Regions from separate parts of the Homo sapiens genome. Here region 2 is linked to region 1. Evidence: promoter capture Hi-C in human tissues and cell types (Jung and others, 2019). All regions are on one chromosome and are shown on one strand. Each heading gives the region's core, a stretch centred on a gene start or on the middle of the fragment in contact. The rest is flanking DNA. Distances are from core to core; before and after follow the strand shown. Region 1 holds the start of CCDC73 (coiled-coil domain containing 73). Region 2 overlaps CCDC73 (coiled-coil domain containing 73).

Region 1 (3,390 bases), core at 647-3,146:
CTGGGTTTCAATTCTAGCTCCACCACTTGTCGGCTGTGTAATCAGCCTTGCATTGTTATTTAATCTCTTTCCCATGGTTTTCCCATGAAGTGTAAGGAGAATACTGGGAATACCTACGGTACAGGGTTTGGGGTTTGTTTTTTTAGGATTAAATGAGATAACTTCCAGCCCCTGGCGTGTAATAAGCATTCCACATATGATATCTATTACTATTAGAATAACACTATCACCGCACCTGTACAGTTATTACGGGATACACGGCCAGAGCGAAAGAAACTAAAAACCCTATGCTGCCGCCTGGTGGACACTCGGAATTTAAAAATCTGTCATTCGCTTCCTTCCTGACACTACGATATGAAGCCGTATGGAAATTAAAACGTTTTCTCAAGCTGCATTAACACACTTTATAAATCATCAAAGTGGGGAATCTAATTTTCCAAAACTTAACAACTACCCCCAAGGCAACCCTGAAACCAGGGAGAGTTGTAAAGACTCAAATTGGCCGAAGAAATGGCTGAGAGAAGACACCAGTGAAGGACTACAGAGGAAACTCCATCCACAGCGTATTTGCTGATTCTCAGGTTGGGATATTTCAGTATAGATTTTTTCTTCAAGGTATAAAACAAAGAGAGCCATAGGAATTTATCACAACTAAAGCAAAATAACCAATAATCATCAATTCGAGGATCTCAATATAAGCAGAAGACTCCGTGGAATCTTCACATTTTCTTTCTAAAAGAAGTGCACTGATCATAAAGGTTCCCATAAATGACTTAAGGGTTGTCACTTATTTTCAGCAGCAAAGTGAAGTGGAAGATTGCAGCAATGACATGAATAATTTATTTTATTTTATTTTATTTTTTTAGACAGAGTCTCGCTCTGTTGCCCAGGCTGGAGTGCAGTGGAGTGATCTAGGCTCACTGCAACCTCCGCCTCCCGGGTTCAAGCAATTCTCCTGCCTCAGCCTCCTGAGTAGCTGGGACTACAGGTGCCCGCCACCACGCCCGGCTAATTTTTGTATTTTTAGTAGAGACGGGGTTTCACCATGTTGACCAGGCTGGTCTCAAACTCCTGACCTCAGGTGATCCGCCCGCCTCGGCCTCCCAAAGTGCTGGGACTACAGATGTGAGCCACCGCCCCGACCAAATAATTTATATCTAGAATTCAGCATTATCAGGATTAGCAGGGCAGTCATTTCATTCCCAGTGAGATTCCATTTAAATTTGCTCGTGCAAGGCAGTTTGGGAGAAACAAAATCACCAGCAGAATGAAGAAAAAATAGAGAAATGTCCCTGGGAATTTACACACTTCTGCAACTGCGCTAGAACTTTCGCACTATACTTAAAACATTCTGCAAAAAGTAACGTTCACCAAAGAAAAAGTCGAGATTCACCAATAACAGTTCCAAATGTTGCTAACTCTGAGCGGTCAGAGTTGTTTGAAAATTTTCAGAAGAACAATCGACATGATTGCATTGCATTCATAAGGCAAATATGAGGTTTAAAACAAAAACCACCACCACGCAAGGCACATGTACAGAAGGCGCTTCTCCACGATGAACAGACGAGACCCTCATGACTCACCCGCAGTCTCAATCCTGCCCAAGCAGAGATCCAGATGGATGCCTCAGTGTGGCTGCTTCTCCTGGGTCGGGAGCGTGGAAGATTCTAGACACAGCCCAGCAGTCAGGAGGCTCCAGGCCAAAGCAGCCCCTTGGCAACCAGAGCAAGGAAGGGTAGGTTACGCAGCTGGAGGTGCAGGGCAAACCCGTAAGTGGACCCTGCATGAAAAGATTAGGGCTGCTTCCTAAACAGCCCAACTACACGCTTGTGACTGCTCCGACTTACCTCAGCGAAGCGCGCCTCTAGCTCCTGTTGGCCCTTCCGGTTCACCTTTTCCCGCCCTAGGGCACTTCCGGCTTGAAGGTCATTAGCCTAAGATACGTGGGTAATCTTGAGCATCTGGGGCAAAATATGATTGATTTTATTTTCTTTTTAAATACAAGCTTCGGAAAAGATACCTGGATATTTGATGTTTTTCCTTAAGTACAACATGTATTGGCTTATATATTCTTTTTTGTTTTTGTTTGTTTTCGGTTTGTTTTTGGTTTTTTTTTTGAGACGGAGTCTCGCTCTGTCGCCCAGGCTGGAGTGGAGTGGCGCGATCTCGGCTCACTGCAAGCTCCACCTCCCAGGTTTATGCCATTCTCCTGCCTCAGCCTCCCGATATATTCGTTTTTTAAAAAAAAAGTCTTTGGAAAGATGAAAGAAAAATGAGTAAGTATTACCTGTGGGGAGCAATGGGAAGTGTGTGGATGGGAACGGGAGAGAGAGGGAGACTTCACTGAATAGCTTTTTATACTTTTTGATGTTTGCTTCATGTGAATGTGTTACTAATTCAAAAAATAAATGTTAGCCGGGTGTGAGGGTTCACTGGCTCATGCCTGTAACCCCAACAATTTGGGAGGCTGAGGTGGGAGGATTGCTTCAGGTCAGGAGTTCGATACCAGCCTAGGCAACATGGTGAGACCCCCGTCTCTACCCAAAAATACAAAAATCAGCCGGGCATGGTGGCGTGCGGCTGTAATCCCAGCTACTTGGGAGGCTGAGGCAAGAGGATAGATTGAGCCTGGGAGGTCAAGGCTGCAGTGACCCAAGACTGCACCACTGCACTCCAGCCTAGGCAATGGAGCAAAACCCTGTCAAAAAAAAAAAGAAAAGAAAAGTTGCTTAATTTTTAAAGTGAAATAGAAAAAAAACTGCAGTTCTAATTATACTGATAATCACACCTATTTTAAGCACCTAACTAATGCTATGTTTCAGTATGTTATGTTGAATAGTCATTCAATAAGAATGTAATATGTTTCAGGCCTACATTGTTTTTGCATGCTACCAAAATGTAAAAGAAGTGGTTCCTGCCCTCAAATTTTTTTTTTTTTTTTGAGAAAAAGTCTCATTCTTGTCCCCCAGGCTGGAGTGCAATGGCACGATCTCAGCTCACTGCAACCTCCGCCTCCCGGGTTCAAGCGATTCTCCTGCCTCAGCCTCCCGAGTAGCTGGGATTACAGGCGCCTGCCACCACACCTGGCTAATTTTTGTATTTTTAGTAGAGACGGGGTTTCACCATGTTGGCCAGGCTGGTCTTGAACTCCTGACCTCAGGTGATCTGCCCGCCTTGGCCTCCCAAAGTACTGGGATTACAGGCATGAGCCACCGCAGCCGGCCCCCCGCCCTCAAATTTTTAACCACGTTTTCCAGTAAAAATCTGTCTGGAATTCTTTTTACTCCTTCCCTTTCTCCAAGCGTTTGCCCAGATGTCACCTTTTTAGGGAAAGCATTCCTAACTACCCCATAGTAACACCCATGCACATCCCCTACTTTGACCCCACCT
Region 2 (3,390 bases), core at 296-2,795, 37 kb before region 1:
ATCTATATATATATCTCCATATATATATCTATATATATATCTCCATATATATATCTATATATATATCTCCATATATATATCTATATATATATCTCCATATATATCTATATATATCTCTCTATATATCTCCATATATATCTATATCTATATATATCCTTTTAAAGGTTATTTACAACATCAAGTCCAAGATAATTTATTACAATTGTATATTTTCTGTCTACCATTTGGGAAGATGTAAAGCCTATTTCTATTTATTTAGTCATTACCCTTAAAATTTTAATATTCCTACTTAACTGAAGAATATCTGTAGTTGGTCAGTATCTTTATATCTTCCGAACGATACAAGGACCTAAGAATCAGTCCCATCCAGGCTTAACAGTAACTGTGGTTCAGTGTTTTAATTCCACTTTTTTATCTTCAAAAACTAAATATAATTATTCATTTTTAATTGTATCAATCTTTTTGCACTCTGTTTTAAATGCTAAATAAAAAGATCTCTTCAGAAACTATTAATGAGAAGTATTAAAAATTTGCAATAAAGATTTGGGAGGGCATGAGACAAAATCAGTATCTCATAAGTAGTTCCTGAATAAGATCTGTTCTTGCTTATCACACATGCCTGCAAAATGTCTGGTACAAGAATATGCACAGCAATATGAATAGCAACTGTATTCATAAAAAACAACAACTGAAAATCCCTTAGGTATCCATAACTATGTTAATGAAAACAACAAACTATGGTACATTTATATTATAGATACTATTCAATGATAAAAACGAACTGACTACAAACACACACAACAAGAATAAATCTCAAAAATACTACACTGAGTTAAAAAAAACTTGCACAAAAAAAATACTGAATGATTCCCTTTATATAAAAATCTAGAACAGAGATAAGCTTATCTTTAGTGAAAAAAATTAGAACAGGGGCTGCCTCTGGATGAAAAGGGGTGAAGAATTTTATTCTACATAAATTTTATATTGAAAGAAAAAATAAACAAATATTATTAAAATCCAGTTAATAATATACATACTGAAGCATATAATTTCCAACTTATTTGGAAATGAATCCCAAAAATAAGACCAATGACAGATAGATATACTATGAGATCAAGCATAGAATCTGATTAGTAGGTACATTAGGTTACTATTACTACTGTAACAAATAACAACAAACTTAGTGGCTTAAAACAACTCAAATTTATTCTGTTGCAGTTCTGGAGGTCAGAAGTCCAAGGTATCTGCAGGGCGGCATACCTTCTACAGTCTCTGGGGGAGAATCCATTTCCTTGCTTCTTCCAGCTTCCACTTACATATGCTCCTTTGTTCATAGCATCTTCCTCCATCTTCAAAGCTAGCAGCATAACATCTTCCAGTCGCTTTCTCTTCGACTATAACCTTTAGTTCCACTATCACATCTCTTTCTCAGACTCTGATTCTCCTGTCTCCCTCTTATATGAATGCTTATGAGTACTCTGGGCCCATTCGAATAATCCAGCATAATCCCTCCATCTCAAAATGCTTAATTTAATCACACCTACAAAATTCCTTTTGCCATATAAGGTAACATATTCACAGGTTCTTGAAATTAGGACATGGACATGCTTGGGTGCCATATTCTGTCTACCACAATGGGTATATGGGTGTTCACTGTAAAGTTCTTTCAAGTATTACGTATGTTTGAAATTTTCCTACTAAAATGTTGAGGGGGAAATCTAGGAATACAGGTCAAGTACCGCCATCAGGGTAAATGGGAAAAACAGTAACAGTCTTTTTCTAATGAAAGTAAGGGATTTTTTCCCCTTTTTAAGAAGAAAGCTCTCTTTTCAATGAGGAATTTGATTGCTAGTATTATATACTTTTACATTTGATTATTAAAAACATTTTCCTCTTCATCCAGGGATGGCATCTAGATGCACTCAAAATGGTCCAGCATTTGACGTATCATCATGGGCTTTCCTACAATACAGCCTCTAACAAAACTAGGCTGTCCCAAACCCCTGGTAATAGAATTGTTTACCTTTATACCAAGAAGGTTAGGAAAGCACCAAAATCTCCACGTGGCATGCCTCCAAGTAGATTTCAAGGAGTTTGTGCTGTGAGACCTAAAGTTCTTATGAGGTTATCTTGAAAAAATGTGTCAGCAGAGCCTATGGTGGTTCCATGTATGCTAATTGTGTCCATGACAGGATCAAACATGCTTTCTTCATCAAGGAGCAGAAAATCCTTGTGAAAGTGTTGAAGGCACAAGCACAGAGTTTGAAAGCTAAATTTTAAAATGAAGCTTTCTTGGGTAATAAAAGAAAAAAAAAACGCTATTCCTTTTCTAATCTGAAATTTTTCAGAAAATTTTTAAAGGAAGCATATTTTTTAAGTTGGAAATATAAACAGACCAAAGTATAAAATTTAAAACATAATAAAACAGAATACTAAGTTTTAAATAGTGACCAAAAGTTGTTTCACTTAGGAAAGATAACATTTTAAGCTAATTTTACAAAAACACTTCTTTATAATACTTACCCAAAATACCATTTTTAGCAGAATTTCATCTTAAAACAGACTTTTATTACAATAATAAGTAGCTTTAAATAGGATGAACACTGTGGTATTTAAATTTTGTTATTGTAACAATAAATTTCAATATTTTAAAATCCTAGAACAATATTTGTATTATTATATAATAAAAATGTTGTTTCAGATCTTTTTCTCTCATTTATAGCTTATTTTCAGAAAGTCAGTAAATTCTATTGATTCTTCTTTCTGCCTCTTCTGTTCTATCTTCATGGTCATATATATGTCCTAGTGAACTCATTTCTATATCCTTATTGCAATAGTTTTATGGTTTTTTTTCTCTCGAGAATCTTCCAAGCTCCAATCTATCCTATATAGAGTTAAAATTTAGACCCATACAAGTCTCAGAAATAAAATGCTTTTTAATGGGATTTGCACAATATAGATAGCCTGCTGAAACCAACATTTTTTCCTTTTTTTTTTTTTTTTTTCTTGAGATAGAGTCTTGCTCCGTCACCCAGGCTGTAGTGCAGTGGCGTGATCTTGGCTCACTGCAACCTCCACCTCCTGGGTTCAAGCAATTCTTATGCCTCAGCCTCCTGAGCAGCTGGGACTACAAGCATGCGCCACCATATCCAGCCAATTTTTTGTATTTTTAGTAGAGACAGGGTTTCACCATGTTGGCCAGGCTGGTCTCGAACTCCTGGCCTCAAGTGATCCACCTGCCTCATCTTTTACAATTTTATACTAGACATATCCTTTAAGAAAAAATCACAGTTATCACTTTTTAAAATAAAGATATTTGATTCTTTCAACCCAGAATATTTACTACATACATTTATTTTGTCACTTAATCATATACTGCCTTGTTTCATT

Evidence for each region. Contacts are between HindIII fragments. The study calls those that stand out against the background at their distance.
Region 2: a contact is called between a fragment that was not itself captured here and the fragment with the promoter of CCDC73 in region 1, in 1 of the 25 tissues and cell types used here (adrenal gland).

Annotation. Positions count from the first base shown.
Region 1 is chr11:32,792,766-32,796,155 of GRCh38, forward strand. It overlaps CCDC73 (coiled-coil domain containing 73), which reads right to left and starts at 1,897. Exons shown (of 18, transcript NM_001008391.4): 1 at 1,848-1,897. RefSeq lists silencers at 213-262, 273-392. The HindIII fragment of the contact is 8,709 bases long and covers 1-2,732 here.
Region 2 is chr11:32,756,341-32,759,730 of GRCh38, forward strand. The region is part of intron 2 of CCDC73 (coiled-coil domain containing 73); the gene reads right to left. It also overlaps the pseudogene RPL34P2 and the pseudogene LOC124902803. Among named protein-coding and RNA genes, the nearest start is that of CCDC73, 37 kb to the right of the region's middle. The HindIII fragment of the contact is 3,317 bases long and covers 1-3,204 here.